Regions from separate parts of the Homo sapiens genome. Here all the other regions are linked to region 1. The links are contacts of gene promoters, found by promoter capture Hi-C in blood cells and fetal thymus (Javierre and others, 2016). All regions are on one chromosome and are shown on one strand. Each heading gives the region's core, a stretch centred on a gene start or on the middle of the fragment in contact. The rest is flanking DNA. Distances are from core to core; before and after follow the strand shown.

What was found. The method cuts DNA at HindIII sites, captures the fragments that hold promoters and counts their contacts. A CHiCAGO score of 5 or more calls a contact.
Region 2: a contact is called between a fragment that was not itself captured here and the fragment with the promoter of SLC25A29 in region 1, in 1 of 17 cell types (megakaryocytes). The highest score is 5.6, in megakaryocytes.
Region 3: a fragment that was not itself captured here is called in contact with the fragment with the promoter of SLC25A29 in region 1 in 1 of 17 cell types (fetal thymus); the score reaches 5.2 in fetal thymus.

What each region holds. Positions count from the first base shown.
Region 1 is chr14:100,305,194-100,307,826 of GRCh38, forward strand. SLC25A29 (solute carrier family 25 member 29) reads right to left here and starts at 1,251. Exons shown (of 4, transcript NM_001039355.3): 1 at 1,006-1,251. The coding sequence starts at 1,039. RefSeq lists enhancers at 187-753, 1,962-2,031, 2,062-2,231 and silencers at 1,082-1,181, 1,242-1,711, 1,802-1,871. The HindIII fragment of the contact is 14,672 bases long and covers 1-2,633 here.
Region 2 is chr14:100,656,456-100,659,088 of GRCh38, forward strand. LINC00523 (long intergenic non-protein coding RNA 523) reads left to right here and starts at 813. Exons shown (of 2, transcript NR_024096.1): 1 at 813-1,255. The HindIII fragment of the contact is 938 bases long and covers 873-1,810 here.
Region 3 is chr14:99,984,702-99,987,334 of GRCh38, forward strand. It overlaps a transcript of EVL not described here. Among named protein-coding and RNA genes, the nearest start is that of EVL, 79 kb to the right of the region's middle. The HindIII fragment of the contact is 8,165 bases long and covers 1-2,633 here.

The sequences.
Region 1 (2,633 bases), core at 1-2,500:
TCCGACGCCACAGATTTAATACTTAAGGCCACCGCTACCCACTCTTCCGCCAGGGCTCTCAGCGCTGGCCGGGAGCTGAGGGTTTATTCGAGCCAAATCCAAGTAGATGAAGAGGCGGTGAACAAGGGCAGGTGCTGGGAGAAAAGTGGGACCAAACAGGGATAAGCGGCCGGCCCTCTCAGCAACTCCCGCCGCCAACCACCCTCCCCCGCCCCCGACATCTAAATCCTGGTGAATAAATTAACCCTCAAGGTAAAAGCAGAGAAGCCAGAGGCCCAACAGGGAAGTGCCGTGCCCGACGCCCACGGTCGGGGCATGGGAGAGCCTGGACTGCACGCCCGCCCGGGCCCTCCCGGGGACAACTGCATGGGAGGAACCCCAGAGCCGCGACCGCGCCTCGGAGAAGGTGCCCCACACCGGCTCGCCCGACCCACCCACCACCCCCCTTCCGCCCCCAACAGCTCACAAAACCGCGTAGGAAGGGGCGGCGTTCCAAGGCGTGACTCGGCGCCAGAGTGGTTCAGTGCCCTCCAAGGCCAGCCGAGTAGGGGGTCGGCTCCGTAGCCCCAACCCCGCTGGATGGCTGCGCGGGACGGGGTGGAGTCAGTCCCGAAATATACGGCCGGGGGAGGGGACCCTGCTCCCAGTGCGCAACGGATGGGGATGGGGGAGGGGAAGGAGATGAGCCCGGGACCTCGGCGCGGGGGGCAGTGGGGCATCCTCCCGGCAGTCCTGGCCTCCGCTCAGCCACGGTGCTGCCCCGGCGCCCCAGACCTCCCGTCCGAGCGTGCCCAGAGAGAATAAAGACACCTGCCCTCGCGGACAGCCCGGGCCTGAAGTCAATTTACGCCCACGAGACCCGCCCGAGGCAAGAGAACTGTGGTCCCCATTCACAGACGCGGCGACCCCCGCCAGCGGGAAGCCGCGAGGCCAGGGCGTGCTGGTGGGCCGACCTCCCTCCCCGGACGCCTCGCCCCGGCCCGGCCCGGCCCGCCGCCTCCTTACCCCCCGCGCATCCAGCCAAGAAGTCCAGCGCCATGGCCGGGTCCCCGGCGAGGCCGCCTTTCCTCCTCGTCCTCCCCCTGAGGCCCCTCGCCGGGCTGGGCGCCGTCGGGGTCCCCGAGCGCGCGGTGCCGGGGCTGGGCCTGGCCGCTCCTCCTGGCGCGGAGCCCGGGCAGGCGCGGTCAGGGATGGTGGGGATGGCGGCAGCAGCTAGACCCGCGCTGGTCCCTCGGCGGCAGCTGACTCGCTGGATCCCCTCCGGCCCGCGGTCCCTCACCTCGGGCCGCGCGCCCCGCCCCTCGTGCCTGCCGGCAGGGCCCGGGTGGGGGCGCCGAGTGAGGCCAATGGGCGGGCACGGCGCGGACAACACCCCGGGCACTGCGCTTCGCCGCCGCGCCTCATTGGCCGGGCGTGCGCGGGAGGCGGGGCGCGGGGGACGTGGTGGGCGCGCGGGCGGGGCGCGGGGACGCCTCAGACAAAGAGCGCGCTGGGTGCGCAGGTCCGGCGGGAGGGGACGCGCGGGGTGGCGGGGTTGAGCCGAGGACTCCCCCACCCGGAGTACGCGGGGTGGCTCTGGTCTGGACCGGGTCGGGAACCGGACCCTGGGTTCGGAGTCCGGCGCCGCCGCAGAACCTCAGCGCCCTAGTCTGTGCCGTGCGGACCCTGCCGCGAAAACGGCCGTGGAGCGCCGGGACGTTCCGAGGCCCGCAGACTGGGACGCCGCTAGTTGCGAAACTCCGCGAGCGGGAATCGCCCGTGGGGAGCCTCTGCCCGTCCCGCCTGCGCGCCCGCGGCGGCGGTGGCCTCCGGGGCTTCCGGACTCCTGGCCGAACCCGCCGGGTTCTGGGGGTCGGACGCGCACGGGCGCTTCCTGCGGAGCCTGAGGCTGGGATTTGGGCGGAGAGCAGGGAACCTTAAAAGGGAAAGGGGCCATGGGCAAAGGGCGCAGCAGGCCTTCGGGCCACAGCTCCTTCCCGAGGACTGCGGGTCGCGGGAGCCGCGGAAGGTTGTGGAGAGAGGGAGGTTCCTGGACTGGGCTGCAGAGTGGAGTCGGGCCAGATCGCAGCGCCTCCGTCAGCGGCGGCCGGACGGGGCGAGACCGGAGGGGCTCGGTAGGGGCCGCGCTCAGGCGCTGAAGTCGGAGGGTGCTTGGCTCTGGGTCACCAGGGTATCCATGGGCTGCGGGGATGAATGAGAGCCGAGTCTGACTCGGCCCCCCAGGAGTCCCTGACATTCGCAGTGGCAAGGGACTGCCCTGGTCCCTGTGGAGCGTCCCATTCGGTGACTTCCCACCAGCCCTTCCCCAGCGCCTCTGGAGGTCCAGACTGTCAGGTTGGAGCCTGGGAGCAGGGACGGGCCAGGCGCTTTCTCTTCGCTGTAGGAGTCAGATCAGCCTTAGGCCGGGCCCAGCTTCCTTCTTTAGGGCCTGCAGGCAGGCAAGGCCACACCGTGTGCCACGTTTCCAGGTTTAGGGTCACATGGTTCTTTTATCCAAATTCCAGTGGGTACCTACCTCCTGGAGGTGCAGGTCGAAAGGTTCTGTGTATTTGGTACTAGGACACACAGGTAGGTGTTGTCAGTAGTGCAGCCTGGTGCTAGGGGCAGGGGTCCCCAGTGCTCATGTTAGTTTC
Region 2 (2,633 bases), core at 92-2,591, 350 kb after region 1:
GGAAATGGAAAGTTAGGTCCGAAGGCTGCTTTGAAATGGTTGGAGGCTGGTTACCCTGAACCCAGCTCTGGTTTGGCTGCTATCAGCTGGCTCACTGGTGAAAACCTCAGAGCTTTTTTTTTTTTTTTTGGTGGGAATTAGAGCCCATGATGGGTGCATGTATTTGGAAACCATAACACTCCATTGGCACATGCGAGAGTGGTTTGCGATGGAACTCAGTCCTCACAACACTGAGGAAACACAGTTGGGAGACTGAGGCACACAGAGAAGGTGGCTCACCCAGGGCCACACGGCAGGGAGATGTGGCAGCTCTGATGGGGACGTCCAGCCTGGTGGCATCTCAGCATACACAGTTAGGGGGTTCCTCTTAGAGAGAAGGAATACAAAATCCTGCGGCGGTGGATATTCAGACATGTGTGGAGTCCCAGCAAGTGGTCCATTCTATATTAGGCAAATATTAGAGACGGCAACGCAGCCAGGCCCTCCCTGCCAGGAAGTGTGGAAACCCTGAGGAATCAGCACCCGCTGTCACTCGAACCCAGGCCTGGACTCCTGCCCCAGTGCTCTTTCCACCAAAGCACCTTCCTCGAATGCACCCGGTTTCCTGGGAGTGAGCTTCTTTGCCACTGGAATGAACAAAAAATCCAGATGAGGATTTCAGGGTGGCTCTGCCCTGCCTGCCTCACACCGCCCTTTCCAGAACAGGCGGGGGAGCGCGAGGCAGGGCGGTTCTCGCTTGGAGACGGGTGGGTGGACTGGAGGGCAGAGGCAGGCTCTGGGTTCTGCACCCATTTACATATCCCCTGCGCACTGTCCGGAGCACTCCTTCCCTTCCCTGGTTCCTCAAGGCACGGCTCCCCCAGGCAGATGAAAGCTTAATAGAGTTTTGCGACATGAAAGTCAGTCGGAGGAAAGAGCCTTGAACAGTTGTGCGTGAGAGAGAGGCAAGCGCCCGAAATTATTTTACGACAAAGGCAGCTCTCTCTGCCACAGAGGCACAGAGGAGAAAGGAGCCCAGGAAACGGGTCATTTCTTTCGTGGAAAAATGGAAATGCTCTGAAGCATTTTGGGAGACGTGCTGTGAAGCAGGTGACACCAGAAGACAAGGACACTGGGGGCTCCCTGCCGGGAGGCGCAAAAAGCAACTCCCGTTCGAGGGTCAGAGGAGCCTGGATGCTAATGTCTCTCCAAAGTGACTTGGAGCCAACTGCCGGAAAGGCCATGCCCTTAGGAGCACAGGCAGGTCCCAGCTCAGGTGAGCCTGAACCTTCTGCCCCATCAGGAGGTTCCAGTGGGAGGAGCTCAGGTGGGGAGGAGTCGGAAGTCAGGATTTCATGCCTCCCTCATTGGCTCTGGGGTTCCCTTTAAGGTGGACACTCGGTGTGGGCAGTGGGAGGCAAGAGTGAAGCAGAGGAGAGCAAGCGTGGTGGTTTAGCAAAGTAAAGCAAAGTAAACCTGGAGGGAGCAAATGACTTTGTCCTGGGTGTGAAAGGGTAAGGCCCCATTGTAGGTCATTTATTCATTCAACAAACACGGGTTGAACTGTGTCTTGGGCTGGCCTCAGAGAAGCTCAAGAAAAGAAAGATGCTGTCATTGCCCCGAGGAGCCACTGTCTGGCATGCAGGCCAACTGTGACAAGCTGTGGTCCAGGTGAGGTGGGGTCTGGACAAGCCAGGAGGGGTTCACTGTGGATGAGCCAGGGAATGGGGAGAGGCCCCAGAGACGGGCTATGAAGACCAGTCTTGGGGCAAGAACAGTAGGTGGGGAGGGGAGGGAGAACCTTCCAGCAGGAGGATGCACCTGTGGCTAAAGCTTGGAGGTGCAGGGAACGCCCCCAAGCACCTGGGGCCACAGTGCAGGGTGTGGCCAGGACAGGAGTCCTGGAGCTGGACAGCCTGAGGGGCCACATGGTGCTGGGCTCTGTTCCCGGTGGGGAGGGGTGGGACTGTCCCTGTGGACAGCAGGGGGCTACTAGGGGCCCTGGGGAGTGGCAGTGAGGGCAGATACAGGATGTGGCCAGGTGGCGCTGGCTCAGGCAAGTGGGATGGGGAGGGGAGCAGAGGCTGCAGCCAGGAGGGCAAAGGGGAGGTGGCTAGGCCATGGAGGGGAGGAGGAGCATGGGGAGAGCAGCATTGGGGGAGCTCCAGAAGGCCCCTGGTGTCAGAACAGAGGGCAGACCTGCTCCTCCTCCTCCCTCCCTCTCTGCAGCTGCAGCCGGAAGGGCCTTGTCCCTGGGAGGGCTGCCTTGACTCCTCCCCTCCAGCCCAGGTGACTTCCGTGCCTCTCTGTGTCCTCCAGGGTGCTGGGCCCCTGGCCAGCCTGTGGCTCCTCCATGCCCCTGAGTGTGTGGGCAGCTCTGCGGGATGAGAGGATGTCAGGGCAGGGCCCACCCTGAGCTAAGTCCAGTTGTCATGGATTTTCCTTTGTTTATTCCATCTTGGGGTCAGACCTAGCCCAGTGCTGGCCAACCCAGCAGTTGTGCTAGCCCAGGACATATACGGGAGGTCTCATGTGTGGCCCGAGCCCACCCTGTCTCGGTCCAGGACTAGGAGGCTGAGGGTCTGGCTGGGGGCAGCATCCCTGGACAGTGGGTGTGGCCAGGGGGGCTCCTTGCCGGGGGATATGCCACAGAG
Region 3 (2,633 bases), core at 48-2,547, 320 kb before region 1:
CTCCCAGTTTCAAGCGATTCTCCTGTCTCAGCCTCCCGAGTAGCTGGAATCACAGGTGTGCGTCACCACACCCGGCTAATTTTTTTGTATTTTTAGTAGAGACTGAGTTGCACCATGTTGGCCAGGCTGGTCTCGAACTCCTGACCTCAGGTGATCCACCCACCTGGACCTCTGAAATTGCTGGTATTACAGGCATAAGCCACTGTGCCCAGCTGACATTATTATTAATTAAAGTCCAGCATTTATTAAAGTTTCTGTTGTTTTTACCCGGTATCCTTTTTCTGTTCCAGGATCCCATTCAGGACATTTAGTTTAGTTTGTATATAACAACGTTAAGTTGTTATATCTCTTTAGGCTCCTCTTGGTGCTGATGGTTTCTCAGACTTAACTCATTTAATTTTAATCACATTTGCTTACATTTTTGCTTGACAGATATATATATATTGAGTACCTACTATATGCAAGATAGTGGGGCTAGGGATAGAGAGCTATGGAGACCTACATAAGCCTCAAGGAGTTTATAGCCAAGAAGAATAGCATGGGGCATATGAGATGGCAGTGTCAGAAAAGAGGTATGAACGACATAATTTTTATTTATTATTATTATTACATTTGAGATGGGCCTAGGGGAACTGGCAGGATTTTGACTGGGCTTATCTTCTGTTTTGGTTCTTCACCTTTGTACTTCCTTGAACTGGTCTTTCTTCCAGTTGGCTTTTCAGATGCTTGAAGACAATGGACTTCAGTAAGTCTTGCCTTTTCTTGGTTAAAAGTCCTTGGTCTTGGCCAGGCGTGGTGGCTCATGCCTGTAATCTCAGCACTTTGGGAGGCTCAGGTGGGCGGATCACCTGAGGTCGGGAGTTCGTGACCAGCATGACCAACATGGAGAAACCCCGTCTCTACTTAAAATACAAGATTAGCTGGGTGTGGTGGTGCATGCCTGTAATCCCAGCTACTTGGGAGGCTGAGGCAGAAGAATCGCTTGAACCCAGGAGGTGGAGGTTGCGGTGAGCCAAGATTGCGCCATTGCACTCTGGCCTGGGCAACAAGAGCGAAGCTCCATCTCAGAAAGAAAAAAAAAAAAAAGTCCCTTGTCTTTTAGCCATTCATTACTAATTAGTGGCCCTTCTGTGGACCTTCCTTTCACTGAGCTCTGGCCTGCTGAAGTCCTTTAGCAATTTAGATCTCTAACTTCGGCTTGAATACAGAAAGATGTTCGACCTAGCACACAAATGAAACCCTGAATACAAAATGGAAACATACTAAACCTTGGAGCCTCTTTGCTGATAGATCAAAATCAAATGTATTGGCTGGGCACGATGGCTCATGCCTGTAATCCCAGCACTTTGGGAGGCCAAGGCGAGCGGATCACCTGAAGTCAGGAGTTCAAGACCAGCCTGACCAACATGGCTAAACCCTGTCCCTACTAAAAATATAAAAATTAGCCAGACGTGGTGGCATGTGCCTGTAGTCCCAGCTACTCGGGAGGGTGAGGCATGAGAATCGCTTGAACCTGGGAGGTGGAGGTTGTGGTGAGCTGAAATTGCACCACCGTACTCCAGCCTGGGTGACAGAGTGGACTCTGTCTCAAAAAAAAAAAAAAAAAAAAAATCAAATGTATCCACTGGCACTGCTTCTTTCTACCAGCTGAGATTTCTAAGAGGACAGCTTCAGGGTCCCGTTTATGAGCATTTTCTTTCCTGGGAAGAAGGAAAATGCTCTCCTCAATTTGTATCATTAAGGAAAAATCAAACAGTAAGCAACAGACTGAATCAGATAGTGTCCCAATTAGAGGAGCAGCGCTAGGAAGGGAACCAGCTGGTGCCTTCACAAGATCAGAGTGATATGCTTCAGAGTGTCCAAGGCTATGGGTGATGAGGCAGCATGACTGTGAAGTGCACATATGGTAATAATTGCACAAATATTTATTGAGTTCACTGTGCAGATTTCTGGACTATGAATTGAAGACATGGTTTTCTACACATGTAGCCTAGTTCCAAGGAGATAGAGCATAAGTACGTGCAATTCAGCATGTCTACAACTGGACTTACTACCCCTACATTTATGAGCAATTGTTTTTTGACAAGAGTGCCAGACAATTCAATGGGGGAAAATAGCCTTTTCAACAAATACTGGGACAAAGTACCCACATACAAAAGAATGAAATTGGACCCTACCTCACACCATATACAAAATTCAACTTAAAGTAGATTGTAAACTTCAGTGGGAAGACTAAAACTTTAGAACTCTTATGGGAGAAAATACAAGAGTAAATCTGTGTGACCTTATGTTAGACAATGGTTTCTTAGAAATAGCACCAAAAGCACAAATGACCAATAAATAAATAAATTGGATTTTATCAAAATTAAAAATGTTTCTGCTGAAAATGGTACCGTCAATAAAGTGACAAGACAATCCTGATAATGGGAGAAAATATTTGCAAATCATATATCTGATAAGAGATTTATATCTAGAATATATAAAGAACTCTTATATTTTGCTATGGTCTAAAAGTTTGTGTGCTCCCAAAATTCATATGTTGAAATACTACCCCCCGCCAAGATTATATTATTAAGAGGTGGGGCCTTTGGAATATGATTAGGTCATGAGGGTTGAACTCTCATATATGGGAT